Linked DNA regions of Homo sapiens: region 1 is linked to region 2. Evidence: promoter capture Hi-C in 16 types of primary human blood cells and fetal thymus (Javierre and others, 2016). All regions are on one chromosome and are shown on one strand. The core of a region is centred on a gene start or on the middle of the fragment in contact, and the rest is flanking DNA. Distances in the headings are between cores, read along the strand shown. Region 1 holds the start of LPCAT3 (lysophosphatidylcholine acyltransferase 3). Region 2 holds the start of MRPL51 (mitochondrial ribosomal protein L51).

Region 1 (6,311 bases), core at 3,200-5,699, 530 kb before region 2:
CAGCACTTTGGGAGACCAAGGCAGGTGGATCACCTGAGGTCGGGAGTTCAAGACAAGCCTGAACAACATGGAGAAACCGTCTCTACTAAAAATACAAAATTAGCCAGGCGTGGTGGCACAGGCCTGTAATCCCAGCTACTTGGGAGGCTGAGGCAGGAGAATCACTTGAACCCGGGAGGTGGAGGTTGCAGTGAGCTGAGATCGTGCCATTGCACTCCAGCCTGGGCAACAAGAGCAAAACTCCATCTCAATAAAAATTTAAAAAAATTTAAAAATTTAAAAATGGTACAGCCGTATAGGCCATTTACCTGAATGGAGCTTGCAGGACTCGCAGTTGTTCTGGGTTAGTCAGTGAGTGTGAAGAGTGTGAGAGTGAATGTGAAGGCCTAGGACACTGCCATACACTACCATATGTAATTGCCCTGTGGGCTTCTTCCTGCCCGCTGCACAGACAAAATCAATTCACTGAGACCATGGCATTGCATTAGAGAAAGATCTTAATTGATGCAAGGCTGACCATGCCACATGGTACATGAAGCTATTACTCAAATCAATCTCCCTGAAAATTTGGAGGCTAGGATTTTTCAAAGACAGTTTGGTGGGCAGGGGCCTACGGTATAAGTGCTGCTGCTTTGTTGGGGATGCAATCATAGAGGTATGGCAAATGATCCTCATGCCCTGACTCCACCTCTGGGTGGGGTCCATAGGACTGGCTGAGTCACGAGTCCAGCTGGGGTTTGCAGAAATGCCAAAATCTGAAAAGACATCCTAAAAGGTCAATCTTAAGTTCTACAATATGATGTTATCTAGAGGCGTAATTGGGGAAGTTACAAATCTGGTGACCTCCTGAACAACGGTTGGTAATCACTTAATTATGCCTACATTTTAGCGGAATTCAGGGCCCTTTCATAAGCCTAACCTTGCAGCCTTTCATTAGTTTTATAAAGGTGGCTTAGTTTGGGAAAGGGCTATTATCCCTGCTTTAAGTTTAACTATAAACTAAATTTCTCTCAAAGTCAGTTTGGTTTATGCCCAGGAATGACCAAAGATAGCTTGGAGGTTAAAAGCATGAGGGAGGCTGGGCACAGTGGCTCACACCTGTTAATCCCAGCACTTGGGGAGGCTGAGGCGGGCAGATCACTTGAGGTCAGGAGTTCAAGACCAGCCTGACCAACATGGCTAAACCCCATCTCTACTAAAAATACAAAAATTAGCTGGGCATGGTGGTGCATGCCTGTAATCCCAGCTTCTTGGGAGGCTGAGGCACAAGAATTGCTTGAACCTGGGAGGCAGAGGTTGCAGTGAGCTAAGACCACGTGCTTGCACTCCAGCTTGGGTGACAGAGAAAGACTCTCAAAAAAAGCAAGATGAAGTCAACTATATCAGATTTCTCTTACTGTCATAATTTTGTAAAGGCAGTTTAATTGGACTGTATAAACACTATATGCTTAGGCTTCACTGAAGTTATAAATATATATATATAATTTTCTTTTTTTTTTTTCGAGACGGAGTCTTGCTCTGTCACACAGGCTAGAGTACAATGGCGCGATCTCAGCTCACTGCAACCTCTGCCTCCTGGGTTTAGGCAATTCTCCTGCCTCAGCCTTCCAAGTAGCTGGGATTACAGGCACCCACCACCATGCTCGGCTAATTTTTGTATTTTTAGTAGAGTCAGGGTTTCACCACGTTGGCCAGGCTGGTTTCGAACTCCTGACCTCAGGTGATCCGCCCGCCTCAGCCTCTCAAAATACTGGGATTACAGGGGTAAGCCACCATGCCCAGCTTTTTTTTTTTTTTTTTCTGAGACGGAGTTTTGTTCTTGTTGCCCAGGCTGGAGTGCAATGGCATGGTCTCGGCTCGCCGCAACCTCCATGTCAGGCCTCTGAGCCCAAGCCAAGCCATCGCATCCCCTGTGACTTGCACATATACAACCAGATGGCCTGAAGTAACTGAAGATCCACAAAAGAAGTAAAAATAGCCTTAACTGATGACATTCCACCATTGTGATTTGTTCCTGCCCTACCCTAACTGATCAATGTACTTTGTAATCTCCCCCACCCTTAAGAAGGTACTTTGTAATCCCCCCACCCTTAAGAAGGTTCTTTGTAATTCTCCCCACCCTTGAGAATGTACTTTGTGAGATCCACCCCTGCCCACAAAACATTGCTCTTAACTTCACCGCCTATCCCAAAACCTATAAGAACTAATGATAATCCACCACCCTTTGCTGACTCTCTTTTCGGACTCAGCCCGCCTGCACCCAGGGAAATAAACAGCCTTGTTGCTCACACAGAGCCTGTCTGGTGGTCTCTTCACACGGACGCACATGAAACTCCATCTCCCGGGTTCAAGTGATTCTCGTGCCTCAGCCTCCCAAGTAGCTGGGATTACAGGAGCCGGCCATCACGCCTGGCTAATTTTTTTGTATTTTTAGTAGAGACAGGGTTCCACCATGTTGGCCAGGCTGGTCTCTAACTCATGACCTCAGGTGATCCACCCGTCTCAGCCTCCCAAATTGCTGGGATTACAGGCCTATATATATAATTTTTGTTTTTTTTTGCAAGACAGAGTCTCGCTCTGTCTTTCAGGTTGGAGCGCAGTGTCATGATCACGACTCACTACAGCCTCAACCTCCCAGGCTCAAGTGATCCTCCCACCTTAGCTTCCTGAGTAGCTGGGACTACAGGCATGTTCCACCATGCTCATCTAAATTTTATTTTATTTTTTTTGTAGAGACAGGGTCTATGTTGCCCAGGCTGGTCTCCAACTCCTGGGCTCAAGCAATCTTCCCACCTCAACCTCCCTAAGTACTAGGATTACAGGCATGAACCACTGTGCCCGGCCAATATAAGGCATGCAAAACTATACTAATTTTCCTTTCTGGATATATGCTGTATGTAAAGTATTAAAATAGGCATGGGATTGATAAATACCAAAGTCAGCAAAGTGGTGACCTCTGAGAAAGGAAGGAGGGAAATGCCCTCAGGAAGGGATATACCGGCTTTTCAAATGTATAGGTGATGTTTGTTTCTTAACCTGGAGAAGTTATATTATCCTCTACTTTTCCGTGTGAATGAAATATTTTGTTTTTTAAAATCTTGCCCAAAATGGGAGTAGGGGTAGGGAATTTGACAGACCTAGGTTTAAATTCTGTCTGCCGCTTACTTGTAAAGGAACTTACCCAGTTTCTTAATTTCTCCAAGCCTCTGTGTCTGTAAGAGGACATCATCATAATAAATATTCTATTGCGCAGCCAAAGCAAGTGAAATAATACGGATGAAAGTGCTTTATAAAGTGCAAGTGCTACAGAAGTATAAGCTGTAATTTTACAAGAATGCGCCACAAATTATTGTAACTAAGAGTTATTGCAAGAAACTCTTAGCATTCCTTTGTTACATACTCTCACAGAACCTTGACCCTTTCCTTCAGAGCACTTACCTTCTCTTGCAATAACACGTTAATTGATGCTATTATTTGTGCATCCTCCCACTCCGTGGCTCTGGGCTCCTGATTCTATTCCCAAGCCCAGCACAGTCCCTGGCATATGGTAAGTGCTCGACAGATTTTTTTTTTTTTTTTTTTGGCGTAATCTTAACAGGATTACCTGTAGGAAGTGAGAATGAAAAGCAGGGAGGGGAAACAGGACTCTTCTGTTTTACATTTCTATACTGTTATAACTTTTATCATAAACATGTATTACTCAGTGCAAAATTATTTGAATTTTTAATTAAAATAATAAGTGTTAAATAGGCATATCTTAATTTCATCGCCTCTAGGGGGAAGGTCATGTTTTACTACAGGAAACTGCATGGAAAAGGGATCCATGAAATAAAAGGAGCAGACAATGTCTGTTCCTGGGGCACTGGGCTTTCCGCTGAACCTCCGGGAGTGAAGGCGACGAGTCTAACAACCTAAGAATTTAAGAACGGGCCGGGAGGCGCCGTTAGGGGGCGCGCGAAAGGCGGCGCGGGCGTTCCCGCCTCCCCGTTACATGCCCCAGTAACCCCAGCGCCGGCGACCGGGAGTAACCTCGCGCGCGGGCGGCCCCCCCGCGTCCAGACTCTCGCCTGCTCCCGCCTCAGCCAATGGGAAGGCAGCGAACCGGCCGGCCGGACGGTCGCCCCGGAGGGCTCCTCCTGGGAGCATTTCGAACGGAGTTGAACTGTCGCCGGGCCACGGGCTCAGACCTTTCCAATGGCAGCTCTGGGTCCCGACGCCAAGCCCCGCCCAGCCCTGAGCCTCCCCGTGTGCATTCTCGGCAGGAGTCACCTTTGCCTTACAAACCTTCAGACCCGCCCTCTTCCTACCTTGCCGCGCTAGGCCCCGCCCTCTGCGCAGGTCGGCCAATAACGGGGTGAGCTGGCGCCGCGGGGCGGGCCTCCAGCCAATGCGCACGCCGTGGGCGGGCCCCGAGCCGGAATTGGGGGTGAAGCGATAGCGTTTTGCCCGCATTCGGGGCGCGCGGAGCTGGGGGGTCCCTGTGGGGCTCCCGGAGTTAAGATGGCGTCCTCAGCGGAGGGGGACGAGGGGACTGTGGTGGCGCTGGCGGGGGTTCTGCAGTCGGGTTTCCAGGAGCTGAGCCTTAACAAGTTGGCGACGTCCCTGGGCGCGTCAGAACAGGCGCTGCGGCTGATCATCTCCATCTTCCTGGGTAAGGACCCTCCTGCCTCCCTCCGCCCCTCGCGGAGTCCCCGGGGAGTAGGGGAGGAATGGGGACAGGACCTCCCTCTCTTCCCGGAGCCACCCGGGAGGGCTGTGCCGGGTGCGGGTGTGAATCCTGAAGCACACCAACAGCTACTGAGGGAAGACAGAAGTCCTGTCTCGAGTCTGGGGCGCTGTGCCCTCTGAACCTCTTCATCTTTCTCTTCAACCCCTGCCATGCCCTCTGGCCTCTCAGTCGGGCCCCCGCCCTCTTGTGCCAGGCTCTACCCTTGCTCCCACGACCTGTCTTTATTTGTCGCTCTGTTGAGTTCCACTGTCTGGCCATGTGTCCTGCTCTGTCATTAATAACCACCCCGCACACGCGCGCATCTCATCGGTAGGCATAGGGCCCCTAACTTTAGCCCTTTCGGCCTTTTCAGCCCCATATTCCATATTTCATATTCTGAGCGCCTGTTTTGCTTATTGCCAGCTTATATTATACTTTCGTCTCTTTTCTGTCCCAGTCCTACTATTTTCTTTTTATACCATGTTGCTTTTTTTATTTTCCAAGCCACCTACCTGTCATTTACCCTGGAATATCATTTTAATGCTGGACTTGGGAAACAGGACTAACAACCTCCTTAAAATCGATCCATACTATTCCAAGCGTTTATTACACGTGTGGTTCAAAGGATGTGGTGTATCTGAATTTATGCCACAACAAGCTGTATTACAACTGGTTTATAGGCTTTTTTACCGCATCCTCACTCCATGGTTTAATACATGGAGGTAGCATAGTACAATGGAAAAAAGTATGGGTTTTGAAGGCAAACAAATCAGATCCAGCCTTGTTGCTGCTCACAAACTGAAGGACCCTACGCAGGCCGCAAAACCCTCTGGGCCTAATTTCCTTATCTATGAAATGAGGACAACAGTGCCTACCACATAGGATTGCCATAAAGTCCTGTAGAAGGGCCAAGATTGGGAAGTACCTGTACATATATATACATAAAATTTAAGCAGTTGGAACGTTTTATGAAGGTTATAGAACTTTAGGAGCGGGTGAGTGGGAAGGATTAAGCAAAAGCTGTAAGTGGTGATAAGGAAACAGGACTGGGGCTAGAGCAGAGGGTTAGAGGTCTGAACCATGAGAAGTTTGAGATAAAGTTGGGCAGGTGTGGAAAGCCTTAAATGCCAGAGAGAAGTTTGGCGTTTATCCAGTATTCAGTAGAAACACTGATATATAATATCACCAGAGGGTGTTAACCCAATCTAGATAATGGGATAGGCATTAATTCATATTTAAACAACCTTGCCTAATAGCATTGTTACTTTCCTATTACATATCAAACCAAGATCTTCCTTTCTTCCAAATAAAGATCACCTTTTTCTTCCTCTGTGGAATCGTAAGATTTTAAAGATGGAATGGAACTGGGGTTGTGCAGTTTGCTCAGTGTCACCCAGACATCATCCAAATTTATCAGCACCCTAGTCTAGGCTTATTTGCACTACACCAGCTTTGAACTTCCTACTCTTTCATCCTTGTTTCTGACCCAGTTATTTTTGACATTGTAATTAGCAATTAGTGTTTACATTTGACAGGACGCAGCGGCTTATGCTTATAATCGTAACACTTTGGGAGGCCAAGGTGGGAGGAACGCTTGAGGCCA
Region 2 (6,884 bases), core at 623-3,122:
AATGGCAGATGGAACTCATACATTTGGGGAGCCATTCTACTCCTACAGGCTCACAGGGCTAGAAACCAAACAGTGAAAAAGTCAGGGTCTATATTCAAGACCTGTCTTCGTATCTGGTTCTATTACTTTCCCATCCCCAACATATATAATGGCTTTTAGTTTTATAGCAAGCTAGTAACATCATCTGGTTTTGTTAGTTCCCCACCCCCAACATATATAATGGTTTTTAGTTTTATAGCAAGCTAGTAACATTATCTTACGGGATCTGAGATTGACCCTGGACTAGAAACTAATTCTAGTAGTGACTTTGGCACTTGGTCTTGACACTTAAACCTCTGGGCTTTATCTGTAAAAACAGGGTTACTAAACTCTGATTACTTCACAAAGTTGCTCTGATGATCAAACAAATCAAGCAGTACGAAGGTGTTTAAAGAACTATAAAGTGGCATATTAATGTGCAAAGTACTATTATTTCCATTTTTATGTGCAAAGCTCCTTAAGTATAGAGAGAATGGTCTGATCTCGTCTGAGGCCAAAACAGTGCCCCAGCATGGGCTAGTGGGCTTCCTGCACCAGAATGGTAAGAGCATTAACAATGATGATTTATTTATCCTGTGCCAAGTCTGTTAGGCTGTTTGCATGTATCATATCTGATCTAAGTATCCTAACCTCAATCCCATGAGGTGCATAATAATACAAATGAGTTTACAGAGCGGAAATTGAAGTAAGAAAGTTAAGCGATTTGCTTAACATCTTCCGTTGCGGATCTGTTAAGCGATTTGCTTAACATCTTCCGTTGCGGATCTGTTAAGCGATTTGCTTAACAACTTCCGTTGCGGATCTGTCAGACTTACAGTTTCTCACACATCGCGCCCCAGGGATATACTTACTAGGCCTATTGTATTTTGCCCAAGACTGGGTCACACTGCCATGTACTCGACTTTCCTACTCTTTTACGACCTGCAACACCACATCTTACCTGGGGATCTCACCCGCGGCTCTGATTCCGGCAGTCAGGCTGAAATGAAAAGGAAAAAACACGCGTGCACAACACGCACCAATTAGCAAGGCAGTTTTCAAGTCGGCGGAGAATCCGGCCAATCCCCGGCAGGCAGAGGCAAAGGGCCGCCTCTGAGTCTGGCAACGCGCGGGCAAAGCCACAAATACCGAGTTCAAATCTCAACGGCTGCAGGACGGCCAATCGCGACGCCCGCCGGAGCGGCCGGCCAATCACAGCGCCGCCCGGGGGCGGGCCAAGGCTCCGGCTCCGGCCCCCGCTCCCACCCCCGGCCCGCCTGCGAATCCCTCCTTGGCCGCAAGGTCCCCCTTTGCCCAGTCGGCGGGGAGGAGGCCGTATTTCTGCTGGCCAGAGACGTCGCGTCCCTGGCTGGGCATTCAGTCACCCCCAGGAAAGGAGGCAAGTCCACGCTGGGAGTTAGAAGGCATCGCCTCTAATCCAGGTTTCGCCATCTCCTCTGCTAAGTGACGTCCAGCAAGTCACTTCACTTTCAGGACCTCAAATCTCCTCCCCAGTAGTAAAATAGGGGTAATAAAAACAGCTACAGCGGAAGACTGTTGTGAGGCACAGAGAAAGGGCTTGGTCATTGGAAGCGGGTTCCAGGTTCTCAACCTTCATTTCCTTCACGGTTGAAGGACGCCAAAGAAAGCGGAAAGGGTGAATTTTCTTGAAATCTCAGTTTTGGGGAATCTTAGCGACGAGTCGCGGACCTCAGCTTGTCCGGCGCTCCAAAACTTCCGGCAGGCGGACCGGAAGCACTGAGGCGGGAAGGGTGGTAGAGGCCCCTCCTGCCGGAACCCGGGGGGCGGGGCTCGTGGCTGTTGCGGATGGGGCGTAGGTGGGCGGTGCGCCCACAGCTGCCTGGGTAAGGCCCAAGATGGCTGTCTTCGCCTTAGTACTCGTGTGAAGTTGGCGGGGACGGTTCCTGTCATCTTCTTGGGCTTATTTGGTGTGCTGTTGAAGGGGGGAGACTAGAGAAATGGCAGGGAACCTCTTATCCGGGGCAGGTAGGCGCCTGTGGGACTGGGTGCCTCTGGCGTGCAGAAGCTTCTCTCTTGGTAAGTGGCTGATGTAGGCACCCCGATAACTGCTTCGTAGTATAATAGGCGGCTCAGATTAATTCCCTCCCTTCCCCATCCCCAGGTGTGCCTAGATTGATCGGTATAAGGCTCACTCTCCCGCCCCCCAAAGTGGTTGATCGTTGGAACGAGAAAAGGGCCATGTTCGGAGTGTATGACAACATCGGGATCCTGGGTAAGACTTGACCTTCGACGTGGTACACAATTTCAGAATGGCAATTAGGCTGTAACGACTATCTTTTCCTCCTGTGTAGAGAGTGGTACTGTGCTCAATAGTAAGAGCAAACACTTATGTAGCTGTTTACATTGTGTTTGGCACTGTTCTGAGTCCCCTCGTATAATTTTTACTTCATAAGTAAAAATAAACAGTTTTTCCAAAGTTAATAAATGGCAGCATCAGAATTTTAACCCCAAGCAGTCTGGCTCCAGAGTCTGTGCTATTGTTCTGTACTGTAATGTTCCTTGTCTATAGGTGCTGCTCAGCAAGATGCAACCGTGGGTTGAAAGCTTAGCTGGTGTAGGATGAGTTCTCTTGTCTTGGATCTAATGTGTTCTCTCACATTACACAGGAAACTTTGAAAAGCACCCCAAAGAACTGATCAGGGGGCCCATATGGCTTCGAGGTTGGAAAGGGAATGAATTGCAACGTTGTATCCGAAAGAGGAAAATGGTTGGAAGTAGAATGTTCGCTGATGACCTGCACAACCTTAATAAACGCATCCGCTATCTCTACAAACACTTTAACCGACATGGGAAGTTTCGATAGAAGAGAAAGCTGAGAACTTCGGAAAAGGCTCATCTGTCACCCTGGAGAAGGGAAACTGTACTTTTCCCTGTGAGGAAACGGCTTTGTATTTTCTCTGTAATAAAATGGGGCTTCTTTGGAATTTGATAGCCACATACTTTTGTTTTCCTCTAGATGCTGCCTCTACTCATGTAGACTATGAAGTCTTGACTCATCCTAGATCTTAGGATCTTAGGTTTGGGCTTCACACCACTTGCCTTTTACAGTCTAGCTATACCTAATTCCTTTAAAAAGAAAAGTTGGTGAGAATGTTATTGGCGCTTTTTGACATAATGCTGTTATGTTAATAGTGTTTCTAAAGAGCCTTCCACACTGAAATGAAATATAAGAGAAAAATGGAGTCATACTTCTGTACTACTCTCATAAAATATTTATTAGGCATATTCTCTGAGTAGGAACTATAGGAAAAACAAAAAAGTGTGAGGTGTCCTTTCCATTTAAATATGAAACATTAAGTACCATATGAATGGTAGAGATGGCGGATACTAAGCCTGACTGGTCATCAGTTTTCTGGGTGTTTTAACATTTCAAAAGCCTAGTCCTAACCCCTAAAGATTGATCAGTAGAGCTGAGTTGAGTCTAGGGCATCTATGTGTTTTGTTCTTTTTTAATAATAATTTTTAAGAATTACAGCTGGGCAGAATGGTGCCCACATGTAATCCCAGCATTTTGGGAGGCTGAGGTGGGAGGATTGCTTGGAGACAGGAATTTGAGACTGGTCTGGGCGACATGGTGAAACTCCGTCTCTACTAAAAATAAAGTGGCTGGGTGCGGTGGCTCCTGCCTGTAATCCCAGCACCTTGGGAGGCGGAGGGGGGCGGACCACGAGCTCAGGAGATCGAGACTATCCTGGCTAACACAGCCCTGTCTCTACTGAAAATACAAAAACAAACAAACAAAAAAATTAGCCAGGAGTGGTGGCGGACACCTGTAGTCCCAGCTACTCAGGTGTCTGAGGCAGGAGAATCACTTGAACCTGGGAGGTGGAGCTTGCAGTGAGCCGAGATCGTGCCACTGCACTCCAGCCTGAGCAACAGAGCAAGACTCTGTCTCAAAAAAAAAAAAAAAACAACTTAGCTGGGCATGGTTCTGCATGCCTGTAGTTCCAGCTACTCATGGTTCTGCGTGCCTGCAGTCCCAGCTACACAAGAGGCTGAGGTGGGAAGATCACCTGAGCCCAGGAGTTTGAGGCTGCAGTGAGCTGAGATCATGCCACTGCATTCCAGCCTGAGCAACTGGGGTGAGACTGTCTCAAAAAAAAAAAAAAAAAAAAAGTGAAGTTAGGGCTGGGTGCAGTGGCTCACACCTGTAAGCCCAACACTTTGGGAGGCCAAGGCATGAGGATTGCTTGAAGCCAGGAGTTCAAGACCAGCCTGGGCAACATAGCAAGACCCCATCTCTATATTTTAAAAAACAAAAACTCCATAAAAGTGAAGTTAGATTAATAAATACTTGTTGCGGGGCATGGTGGTTGGAGCACACTTATAATCCCAGCTACTCTGCAGGCTGAGGTGGGAGGATCCTTTGAAACCAGGAGTTGGAGGCCAGCCTTAGGAACATAGCAAGACCCCATCTTCAATAAAAATAAAAAGCACTTGTTAAATTACAAGTGGGTTTTGGATAAATGGATTGATGGGTATATATGAAAACATGATCCTGGGTCTTACGGAAATGTTTAGGAGAGTCAGTTTTCAGAGGGGTGGCTGGAAGGAGCTATGCATAAGAATGGAGAAGTTGATGTGAAATGTGAGTGGCTGTATACTTTACATGATTTGGTGGTGCTAGAGTGGAGAAAATAAAATATTTGGGACTCTGCTAAGTGCAAGGTGCCCTGAAGAAGATATCTACATATCCTGGTAGAGTATCTGATTGTTAGGGAAGAGGAAATTAATAGGTCAATAGGCATTTATAGAATATTTCCTGATTCAAAGATACAAAAGGTTTTGTTTTCAAGGACAGAACAATCTTGTTTGTGGTATGAAACAGTATATAACGTTTTCTTTGAATAAATATTGAATTATTATGTGCAAAGATATTTGGAGGAACAAAAATCACCAAGGTAGGGTTGGTTCCTACCTCTAAGTAGTCTTCATTCTACTTAAAAGATGTCCGGTGGCTCACACCTGTAATCCCAGCACTTTGGAAGGCCTAGGTGGGCGGATCACGAGGTCAGGAGATCAAGACCATCCTGGCCAACATGGTGAAACCTCGTCTGTACTAAAAATACAAAAAAATTAGCCAGGTATAGTGGTGTGTGCCTGTAATCCCAGCTACTCGGGAGGCTGAGGCAGGAGAATCGCTTGAATCCGGGAGACAGAGAGGTTGCAGTGAGCTGAGATTGCACCATGCACTTCAGCCTGGGCAACAGAGGGAGACTCTGTCTTTAAAAAAAGAAAAAAAAAAAAAAAAAGACGTCTGAAGGATGTAAAGTTACAAGATGGTGGACCAATGTGATACTCTGCAGAATGTGCAAATGGTCCACATTTTTTAGATTACATCATGACAGAGAACAGAATTAACATAGCCCTGATGAAAGACCATGACTGTATACTGTTGTTCATCCCCTCCGTGGTGGACTGCTTCTGACCAACATGCTTTAGAAAAGAATGTTGGTTGGGCATGCTGGCTCAGGCCTGTAATCCCAGCACTTTGGGGGGCCAAGGTGGGCGGATCACCTGAGGTCAGGAGTTCGAGACCAGCCTGACCAACATGGAGAAACCCTGACTACTAAAAATACAAAATTAGCTGGGCCTGGTGGCACATGCCTGTAATCCCACCTACTCAGGAGGCTGAGGCAGGAGAATCGCTTGAACTCGGGAGGTGGAGGTTGCAGTGAGCCAAGATCGTGCCATTGTACTCCAGCCTGGGCACCAAGAGCGAAACTCTGTCTCAAAGGAAAAAAACAAAAAAGAAAAGGATGTTCGCCAGGTGCAGTGGCTCACACCTGTAATCCCAACACTTTGGGAGGTTGAGGCGAGAGGATCAGCTGAGCCCAGGAATTCGAGATCAGCCTGGGCAACATGGTGAAATGCTGTCTCCACAAAAAAAAAAAAAAAAAATTAGCCAGGCGTTGGTGGCATGTGCCTGTAGTCCCAGCTGCTGTGGAGGCTGGGTGGAAGGATTGCTTGAGCCTTGGGGGTCGAGGCTGCAGTGAGCTGAGCTTGTGACACTGCACTTCAGCCTAGGCAACAAAGCAAGACCCTGTCTCAAAAGAAAAAGAAAAAGAAAAAAGAAAAACAATGTATTTGCTAAATCAGTGGTCACAAACCACAAATGTGAGGCTATGTTAATCTGCTCCAATAAAGATATCCCATCCAGCAGACAATTAGCACTGGGATTCCCACTTGGTTAAATTGGCAGCAGCTTCATCCAGTTTATACAGGGGTAAGACTGGAAAAAAGAAAAAAAGAAGAGATGTGTATGTAAACAAAATGTAAATTTAAATATGATAATGAAAGCGAGTCCCATGACAGGTTTTTTTTTTCTTTTTTTTTTTTGCTGAGGGGGATGATCAGAAAAGGTATTTGTTGAAAAGATGGCATTAGAATGAGCTCTTGAGGCCAGGAGCAGTGGCTCATGCTTGTAATCCCAGCACTTTGGGAGGCCGAGGTGAGCAGATCACTTGAGGTCAGGAGTTCAAGACCAGCTTGGCCAAAGTGGTGAAACCCCATCTCTACTAAAAAAATACAAAAAACAAATTAGCTGGGCATGATGGCACATGCCTGTAATTCCAGCTACTCAGGAGGCTGAGGGGGGAGGATGGCTTGAGCCCAGCAGGTGGAGGTGGCAGTGAGCTGAGATCAGGCCACTACATTCTAGCCTGGGCAACATAGCAAGATCCTGCCTTTAAAAAAAAAAAAAAGGAAAAAAGAATTCCACCCAGTGCAAGAGGCAGATGAAGAAGCATAGTTATGAAATCCAGTATGTCATGACATTTAAAGTTTGTTAATAGCTATGTGTATAGGTGTGGAGAGGAAGAGAC

What was found. Contacts are between HindIII fragments. The CHiCAGO score rates a contact against its expected background, and 5 or more counts as called.
Region 1: the fragment with the promoter of LPCAT3 here is called in contact with the fragment with the promoter of MRPL51 in region 2 in 1 of 17 cell types (non-activated CD4 T cells); the score reaches 6.9 in non-activated CD4 T cells.

Annotation. Positions count from the first base shown.
Region 1 is chr12:7,016,614-7,022,924 of GRCh38, reverse strand. It overlaps LPCAT3 (lysophosphatidylcholine acyltransferase 3), which reads left to right and starts at 4,449. Exons shown (of 13, transcript NM_005768.6): 1 at 4,449-4,651. The coding sequence starts at 4,501. RefSeq lists a silencer at 3,839-4,098. The HindIII fragment of the contact is 11,114 bases long and covers 1-6,311 here.
Region 2 is chr12:6,488,250-6,495,133 of GRCh38, reverse strand. MRPL51 (mitochondrial ribosomal protein L51) reads left to right here and starts at 1,872. Exons shown (of 3, transcript NM_016497.4): 1 at 1,872-2,076; 2 at 2,162-2,272; 3 at 2,667-3,248. The coding sequence starts at 1,998. The coding sequence ends at 2,863. It overlaps NCAPD2 (non-SMC condensin I complex subunit D2), which reads right to left and starts at 1,032. Exons shown (of 32, transcript NM_014865.4): 1 at 980-1,032; 2 at 1-58. The coding sequence starts at 35. RefSeq lists a silencer at 1,075-1,404 and enhancers at 840-1,437, 1,605-1,654. The HindIII fragment of the contact is 4,003 bases long and covers 1-2,067 here.